Regions from separate parts of the Homo sapiens genome. Here region 2 is linked to region 1. Evidence: promoter capture Hi-C in human tissues and cell types (Jung and others, 2019). All regions are on one chromosome and are shown on one strand. Each heading gives the region's core, a stretch centred on a gene start or on the middle of the fragment in contact. The rest is flanking DNA. Distances are from core to core; before and after follow the strand shown.

Region 1 (4,503 bases), core at 9-2,508:
GGGCGTGGTGGTAGGCCCCTGTAATTCCCAGCTACTTGGGAGGCTGAAGCAAGAGAATCGCTTGAACCCAGGAGGCAGAGGTTGCAGTGAGCCGAGATGGCGCCATTGCACTCCATCCTGGGCAACAAGAGCGAAAATCTATCTCAAAAAAAAAAAAAAAAAATTACAGAATACTCGTCACTTTGATTTCCAGCTAGAGCCGTGACTCTGACTGCTCCCTGAGGAATTAAGTGAGGGTGCTGGGGTGTAACTAGCATTGGATTGGATCCTGGGCTGTCCCGCAGGGATGAGGAGTGCATGCGCACGCAAATCAGCAGGCAATTGGATAGACAAGGCTCCAGGCTACTCTTCCGCAAGAAATCTTCCTGCTTGAAGATATTCATAGGGGATGGCAAAAGGCAGTGTAGCATGGATTTGAGAGTTTGAGAGAAAAACTGTGAGCTGAGCTCTTCTGGCTGAATAGCAGGATCCCTGAAGCACCCTCCTAGTCAGCCTCCCAGTCCAGTGGTTTGAGGGACCAGAAGAGCTCCTGGTTGTGTTTTTTCCCCCAGTGTTCAGAAGGGGGCAGAAGTGCTTTTCTAGCCAGCTCTGAGGAACAGGGCCAGGCAATCCCTCTTTGGCTTGTGTCTCCTTTGGCCTAAAGGGTGAAGAGTGAAAGGAGAGAGCAGTAAAGGAGGCTTGCTCAGAACCCGGGGTGTGGGGGGCAGGCGTGCCTCAGGGCTTGCTTTATGGTATAAGCTTTGTCTGCTTCAGGGACTTTTAGGAGCTGGGGATCCTGGGCCCAGCCATAACCAGACAGATTTCTGAGCCCCATTATCCCATCCCCTCTGTCTGGACGGTAGAGCAGTCTGAATGTTCCTCACTAGGAATCCACGGCAAGACAGTTATTCATTCATTCAACAAATATTTATTGAATGCCCGCTGTGGGTTAGTCACCGGAGCGGCAACAGTGAGTAAATAGGACTATCTCTGTCCCCAAGAATCTTACAACACAGTCTCTCCCTCCAGCATCTGGTTTTGTAGCCTGGATGTGTCTGCTAGTAGCCGAATGGTGGTCACAGGAGACAACGTGGGGAACGTGATCCTGCTGAACATGGACGGCAAAGAGGTGCGTTCTCCGAGGTCCTGCCTTTCCCTCCCTCACCCCCACCTCGGTTCTGTGTCCCCACCTGAACCGAGCTCTTCTCTGCAGCTTTGGAATCTCAGAATGCACAAAAAGAAAGTGACGCATGTGGCCCTGAACCCATGCTGTGATTGGTTCCTGGCCACAGCCTCCGTAGATCAAACAGTGAAAATTTGGGACCTGCGCCAGGTTAGAGGGAAAGCCAGCTTCCTCTACTCGCTGCCGCACAGGCATCCTGTCAACGCAGGTGTGATATCCCAGACCTCATCTCTCCTGCAGACCCTGCCTGTCTGACCACTGCTGGGGTTTTCCCTCAGTGTGGAAGCCACTACGTCAAACCTTTACCCCTGATAGCGTCTGCCAAGCTGATGTCTGGGAACCTTTGTGGCTGTGGCTGTCCCCATCAGCTGCTGAGTTTCCAGAATTTTTTTGTTGTTGTTCACAGCCCAGATTCACCTCTTCCTTTCCGCTCCTGTCTAGAGAGGAGTGGGAGGGAGAGTACCCCTGCAGGAGAAGGCCTGCAAGGCCAGGACCACAGAGGGCTTGTGGTTCCTTCAGCTCAGGGGCTTTTCACTTTGCCAGCTTGTTTCAGTCCCGATGGAGCCCGGCTCCTGACCACGGACCAGAAGAGCGAGATCCGAGTTTACTCTGCTTCCCAGTGGGACTGCCCCCTGGGCCTGATCCCGCACCCTCACCGTCACTTCCAGCACCTCACACCCATCAAGGTGAGTGGCGGTGGGAAGGAGCTCGCAGAAGGAGGCTGTGATCATGAGGCCGGAGCAGGTCTGCCCACAGTGGGGAAGGGCTGATGTGGTAAGCCTGCCACCCCAGATCGCTCCTGGCCCGAGCACAGAGCATCTCTTACCCATTGGCTCTCTCTCTTCCTTTTATCCCACTTCTGCCATCCCATATGGTTGAGTTTTCTGTCTCGCTGATAAGATATTTTTCTGAGTTTTTTCAGCCCAGCTCTGATCTCACTGTGAGAATTTTCTAAGATCCTGACCCTCTGTTCTGTCTTCTCAGCTTCAGTTACCTGTGTACAGTTGACCCACAAACCTTCATTTTTTATTTTTTTATTATTTTTTTTAAGGCAGGGTCTCGCTCTGTCACCCAGGTGGGAGTACAGTGGGGCAAGCATGGTTCATTACAGCCTTGATCTCCCAGGCTCAAGCGATCCTCCTGCCTCACTTTTTTTTTTTTTGTAGAGACAGGGTATTCTTGTGTTACCCAGGCTGATCCTTTTTTTTTTTTTTTTTTTTTTTCTTGAAACGGTCTTGCTCTGTCACCCAGGCTGGAGTGCAGTGGCACAAACATAGCTCACTGCAGCCTCAACCTCCTGGGTTCAAGCAATCCTTCCGCCTTAGCCTCGGAAGTAGATTGGACTACAGGTATGCGCCACCATACCCAGCTAATTTTTTTATTTTTTATAGAGATGGGGTTTTGCCATGTTGCCCAAGCTGGTCTTGAACTCCTAGGTTGAAGCCATCCCCCAACCTTGGCCTCCCAAAGTGCTAGGATTACAGGCATGAGCCACTGCGCCTGGCAACTTTGCCTTCTTAGTTTGTCTTGCAGGTTTCAGTGCTTCTAATAATAAAAATAAGTCTTTTATTTTCCCACCTTTTCTCAGGCTCTTGTTAATAGCTTCTCTATCATTAGTCCCCAACACTAATAGCTTTCAAGTCCTTTGATGCCTTTTTGCCTAAGCCCCCATGCAGACTGAGCTCTGCTAGTTCTGCATTCTTTTCCAAAACTACAGATCCTCTTCAGATCTTCAGGTTTTATGCCTATACTTCTCTGGTCAGTTCAGAATAGTGGTGGGGAGCGCCAGTTTCCAGCAGCCAGACCCCCCGGGTTAGAATCCTTGGGCAAATTACTTATATTTTGGATCTGTTTCCTCATCTGCAAAAAGGGAATACTAGTCTCTAACTGATAGGGTTGTTGTGAAGATGAGTCAGTATACTTAAAGCACTTGGCCCCATGCCCAGCACCTGGTAAGTACTGGTAAGTATTCAATAAATGATGATTGAATATTGAGTGGCCCCCACGTACCTCAATCACATCCAAGCTCTTAATAAATAATGTCAAGAATCCTTCCCCAGTTGGTGTTCCTGTTAATCCATCAGTGTTCCCGATAATCCATCTGTCTGCATGTCCCAGTTTGTATCTAGCCAGGTGTCGTAAGTCATTACAGCTTCCTGTGTGTGATTTGTGACTTATTTCTAAGCCTTCGCATGTACTATTTCTTCCTTCCTGCTAACCATGTCTTTCTTCCTTCAAAACTTCCTTGAGAAGTTTAGGAAAATCCCATCCAATTCTGCCATTTTAATAACTGCCAGATTTGTTTTTAGTGGGGTGATCTGGGGAATGTGGGTTTCCTTCTCTTTTTTAGCCATTAGCAATTTTACACTCAGCTCTTAGTTATTCGTGTTGATGGAGACAGGATGACAGTGGGGCTCCTCCAGAACTCAAGTCCTGTTAGGGTTTGGTCACCAGAGGCTTTTTCTGCTTTGTTGTAGGCCTCTTAGGTCAGTATCTGGGTCAGGCTGATGTTAAAACGTTTACCAGTTGGTATGATCTTAGGAAATGCAAATGAGGGAGAAGGCCTGAAGGTGCCCTAAGGGCCAGGGAGGCCAGCTAGGGATTAAAAATGTGCAATGGCAGAGGCACACACAACCTAAAACCATTCTTGTAGTTTTCTGTAAGACTTATCTCCATTATTAGGTTGGCTTGTTACTGGCAAATACTACTTTTTTTTTTTTTTTTTTGAGAGTCTTGCTCTGTCACCTAGGCTGGAGTGCAGTGACATGATCTTCACTCACTGCAACCTCCGCCTCCCGGGTTCAAGTGATTCCCCTGCCTCAGCCTCCCAAGTAGCTGGGACTACAGGCATGTACCACCACGCCCAGCTAATTTTTTTTTTGGTATTTTTAGTAGGGACGGGGTTTCACCATGTTAGCCAGGATGGTCTCGATCTCCTGACCTCGTGATCCGCCTGCCTCAGCCTCCCAAAGTGTTGAGATTACAGGTGTGAGCCACTGCACTCAGCCCAAAGAATACTTTTGATGTTCCTCTTTGTTCATATTTGTTTTTGATGTCCCCCTTGATCATGTTCTGTGTTTACCCTCATGGCCGGCCTCTCCATCTCCTAGGCAGCCTGGCATCCTCGCTACAACCTCATTGTTGTGGGCCGATACCCAGATCCTAATTTCAAAAGTTGTACCCCTTATGAATTGAGGACGATCGACGTGTTCGATGGAAACTCAGGGAAGATGATGTGTCAGCTCTATGACCCAGAATCTTCTGGCATCAGTTCGGTGAGGCTTGGGTCCTCAAATAATGATGGGAGGAAGCAGGGATTCAACCTACCTTATTGACCAAAA
Region 2 (4,441 bases), core at 1,087-3,586, 610 kb after region 1:
TAATTCCAGCTACTTGGGAGGCTGAGGTGGGAGGGTCACTTGAACCCAGGAGGCGGAGACTGCAGTAAGCCATAATTGCACCAATGCACTCCAGCCTGGACAATGGAGCCAGACTGTCTCTCAAAAAGAAAAAAAAAAAAAAGCAGAAAGAAAAAAAAATTTTTTTTGTAGAAATGGGGTCTTGAACTCCCGGCCTCAAGAGATCCTCCCACCTCAGCCCCCCAAAGTGCTGGGATTACAGGTGTGAGCCACTGTGCCCAGCCAAAATATTTAATTAAATGAAATTTGTATCTCTAACATAAAGTCACTCTTTTGAGCCTTAGACCTGTAAACTTCAATGCCTACTTGACATTTCCAAAGGGCTGCTCCCCAGGTACTTCAAATTTACTATGTCCAATAGAATTATTCATATCTATCCAAAATCCATCTTCCGGGTATCTCTGTAAATGGCAACCCCTCCCCACTCACATCTGGTTAGTCACATGAGACACCAGGGAGCTGTCCTTGTTCTCTCTTCTTTTACCATCCCTTACCCCATATTCAATCCACCACCAAGCCCTAGTGAATCTATCTTCCAAAGGTATCTTGAATCCATCTACTTTTCTATTTCTAGTCATTCCCACAATTGAGCCACCAGCAACCCTTACTTGGGCCATGATAAAAGCAAAATTTTTTTTGTATTATACCCATCTAATCCAAATCCACTTTCCACAAAGTAGACTGAGATCTTCTAAAAATACATTTAAAAAAATTTAGATTCAGGGGTACATGTGCAGGTTTGTTACATGAGTATATTGTGTGTATATTCCTATATACATGAGGTTTGGGCTTCTGATGATCCTGCCGCCCAAGTTGTGAACACAGTATCCGATAGGTTTTCCAACCTTTGCTCCCCTCCCTCCCTCCTTTTGGAATCCCTAGTGTTAACTGTTCCCATCCAAAAATGCAATTTTGATGTTAGTAACTCTTTAAAAATCTTTCAATTATTACTCAATGTACTTAGGATAAAATCCAAAAATCCTTAAAAATGGCCTAAGGGTCCCTCATGGTCCGAGTCCTGCCTACCTCTCCAGCCTCAGTATCTCACATCACTTTCTGTTTTACCCACTGCACTTAAGCCACACAGATCTTTGGTCAGTTCCAAACCCGCCACATTCTTTCCACTTCATGACCTTTGCATATGGTGATCCTACTTGCTGGACTCCTCTCTGTCCACTCCCCATGCCTGGCTAACCTCGTGTCCTTTAGATCTCAGGGTAACTGTGAATTCCTTAAAGCCTTTCCCTGCCCCACTAATTATATTTGGTCCTCTTATTAGCCTCTCATAACCCGTATATTTTTCCTCTAGGGCAAGTTTTCCTCCAAAAAATTTCCCCATGAAAAGTGGGTCTACATCTATTCTGACATTGCTACAACGTCTTGCATGATGAAAATTGCAGTTTTGTTCATTTCGTCCTGGTACCTAGCACAATGCCTGACATATTGAAGCTCGAACGTATTTGTACAATGAAGGAAGCTGTAAAGCACTATAAAAACATAACGGGTTCATGTTTAAAATTGGTCTTATGGGCTTTATTCCCCTAAGCTACATTTCCTCTGCTTCTGGTGTTGCTTGGTGTATGTGTGTGTGGGGGTGGGGGGGGGGAGGGGGAGAGGTATCTCTTCTAGAACTCTGTGTCTCAGTTTTCCCGATTCTGATACGAACTGAAAAAACAATCTTTCTCTTTCCCTAAGTGTCAATTACCGCTTCTAGAATAGCACTTTGGGTACAGCGACGAAAATTTATACACCAAACCCTACCTTCCAGGGGAGTTTGGCGAACCACAACACTTACCAATGAATGAACCTGTTTCTGGTTACGGAGAACAACTTGCCACTCTCCACGTAGTAAAAGCCTCCCGCGCTTTCACTGTATTTTACGGCGCCAGCCACGGCATTTGCAGTCCCTGCAAAATGAACGTGGTCAGCCTGCACACGCGTCTTCTGAGAAATGACAGGGACTAAGGGAGCTGACAAAGCAGAGAGTGACAGACTGACAACCCATACAAAGAAAAGAGGAAAACGTCGGACATCAAGGAATCTCTGATCCCGGGGCTAGAGGCATGTGGACTCAGGAGGATGAAACAGGGCGTCAGGGACCCTGGGACCCATGAGAGGAGCCCGAGGGGACAGATGGGATCGCACCCTCCCTGGCCATTTCCGTACCAATGCTGCAGACTGTGAATTCCCGAAAGTGCCTCGGCCTTTCGCGCTCAGCTCCGCTTAGCTCCACGAAGCTCCGTTCCAGGGCTCCCGCCGCCGCCATCTTCCCGCCGTCGCCGCGACGCCCAACGGAACAAAGGCAGGGCCGCGCGGTCGCCGTCACTTCCGGGGGTGGGGCGGGCGGAGCTGCGGACAGGTGAAGCATTCCGGGAGCAGAAAGGCGGCTCCGGCCCTTCGTTGCGAGGCTTCCACCGGGAGAATGAGGGTGGGCAGCGAGGAATCCAGAAGAGAAGGGGGCAGGGGAGGCAGACTCTATCTGCGGGAACCTTCCAGTGGCCGGCTGGAACGCCTCCGGAGGGCGGTGCTCTTTTCTCAGCGGCCGCAGGGCAGGGGGCGGGGCCGGGTTTGTTTCTGTTTCTAAAACGCGGGGCTCAGTCGACCAGGAGGGGCGAGGTCCGGGGAGTCCCGGCCTTTCGGCGTCCTCTGCCGGATCCCGGGTTTATGGTCACCTCTCCCTCGGTTAGGGTGTCCGTCTGTAAATCTTTGGCGATCCTCCCTTCGCTCTTCAGTGGCGACACTTGGGATGGCGGGGTGAGGAAGGGGTAGTGAGGGAAAGGCCTTTGGTTTTGGTCTTTCCCCTCCCCAAGAGACTGTATTCGTGTATTCCTGTATAATGAAACGTAATGTGGTAAACCTTGGTGCTGCCACTTGCTGAGGTTACCTGAGTGCTACTCACTTGGATACGTGAAAGGAATTTGCCATTCCTTCCACCCGTGATCTTGCACTTGGCTGTCAATGCAGTAAGGGCCCATAGTGGGTGTTTAGAAGATATTGTGGGAGTAGATGTTCAAAATCGAGGAAAATGCTAATCTCCAGCGGGGAAGGTTTTGTTCCTTAGTGATAGCCAATAGAAGTTAAAGCACTTCTATTACCAGTGACCACAACCATTCCCTGTCATTCTCCGTTTCATTTATCTGGTTCCGACCATCATTTTCTATCTTTCCACTTCACTCCCTCTGGGACACCAACTTTGGCAGTGCAGTCCCCTCATTCTACCTGGAATCCATTGTTCTACAAAATCTTCACTGTCCCACACTTCTTTGGTGTTTCTTTCTTATCCTGAATACCATTAAATTACTTCATTGCCTAACTCTTCATCGGTAAAAACTACAACTTCGACTACATTCAAATCTGTAGCTGAACATGACTGGAGAAAACTATACACCCGGGTCGGGCGTGGCTCCCAGCATTTTGGGAGGCCAAGGCGTGAGGATCACTTGAGGTCAGGAGTCCGAGACCAGCCTGGCCAACATGGTGAAACCCGGTCTCTACCAAAAATAGAAAAATTAGCCGGGCGCGGTGGCTCACGCCTGTAATCCCAGCGCTCTGGGAGGCAGAGGTGGGTGGATCACGAGGTAAGGAGTTTCAGACCAACCTGGCCAACATGGTGAAACCCTGTCTCTATTAAAGATACAAAAAATTAGCCGGGCATGGTGGTGCACGCCTGTAATCCCAGCTACTCGGGAGGCTGAGGCAGGAGAATCGCTTGAACCTGGGAGGTGGAGGTTGCAGCGAGCCAAGATCGCGCCACTGCACTCCAGCCTGGGTGACAAAGCGAGACTGTCTCAAAAAAAAAAAAAAAAAGAAGAAAGAAAAAAAGAAAAATTAGCTGGGCATGATGGTGCGCTCATGTAATCCCGGCTACTTGGGAAGCTGAGGCAGGAGAATCGCTTGAACCCGGAAGGTGGAGGTTACAGTGAGCCAAGATCTCGCCGTTGCACTCCAGCCTGGGCAACAAGAGCGAAACTCCGTCTCAAAAAAAGAAAAGAAAGAAAACAGAAAACTATACACCCATACTGACATGCCTCCCTGTAACTCCATCAGGACCATGTACCTTGAGTGGGCCCATAATGCTGCCCAGCAAACACATTGTATTTGCCTTCTCCATTTACTGTTCTAAATGAATATTTCATAACTCCTATAACCTCCATTGCCTCCTTTGTCATCCTGACTCTCAGCTTGCTTCTTCATTTAGAAAATTAAAGCAGAGGCTGAGATGGAAGGATGGCTTGAGGCCAGGAGTTCAAGACAAGCCTGGGCAACATACCCCCATCTCTAATAAAAATTTTTAAAAAACTAGCCAGGCATAGTTGTGTGCCTCTGTAGTCCCAGCTATAGGAGGTTTCTTGAGCCCAGGAGTTGGAGGATACAGTGAGCTACAATCCTGCCACTGTGCTCC

What was found. The method cuts DNA at HindIII sites, captures the fragments that hold promoters and counts their contacts. A contact is called where the count stands out against the background at its distance.
Region 2: the fragment with the promoter of NUP160 here is called in contact with a fragment that was not itself captured in region 1 in 1 of the 25 tissues and cell types used here (hippocampus).

Annotation. Positions count from the first base shown.
Region 1 is chr11:47,233,565-47,238,067 of GRCh38, forward strand. It overlaps DDB2 (damage specific DNA binding protein 2), which reads left to right. Exons shown (of 10, transcript NM_000107.3): 5 at 1,009-1,108; 6 at 1,193-1,370; 7 at 1,706-1,848; 8 at 4,273-4,437. Among named protein-coding and RNA genes, the nearest start is that of ACP2, 13 kb to the right of the region's middle. The HindIII fragment of the contact is 6,251 bases long and covers 1-4,384 here.
Region 2 is chr11:47,846,014-47,850,454 of GRCh38, forward strand. NUP160 (nucleoporin 160) reads right to left here and starts at 2,337. Exons shown (of 36, transcript NM_015231.3): 1 at 2,206-2,337; 2 at 1,835-1,946. The coding sequence starts at 2,305. RefSeq lists enhancers at 2,275-2,834, 4,297-4,346, 4,377-4,426. The HindIII fragment of the contact is 15,264 bases long and covers 1-4,441 here.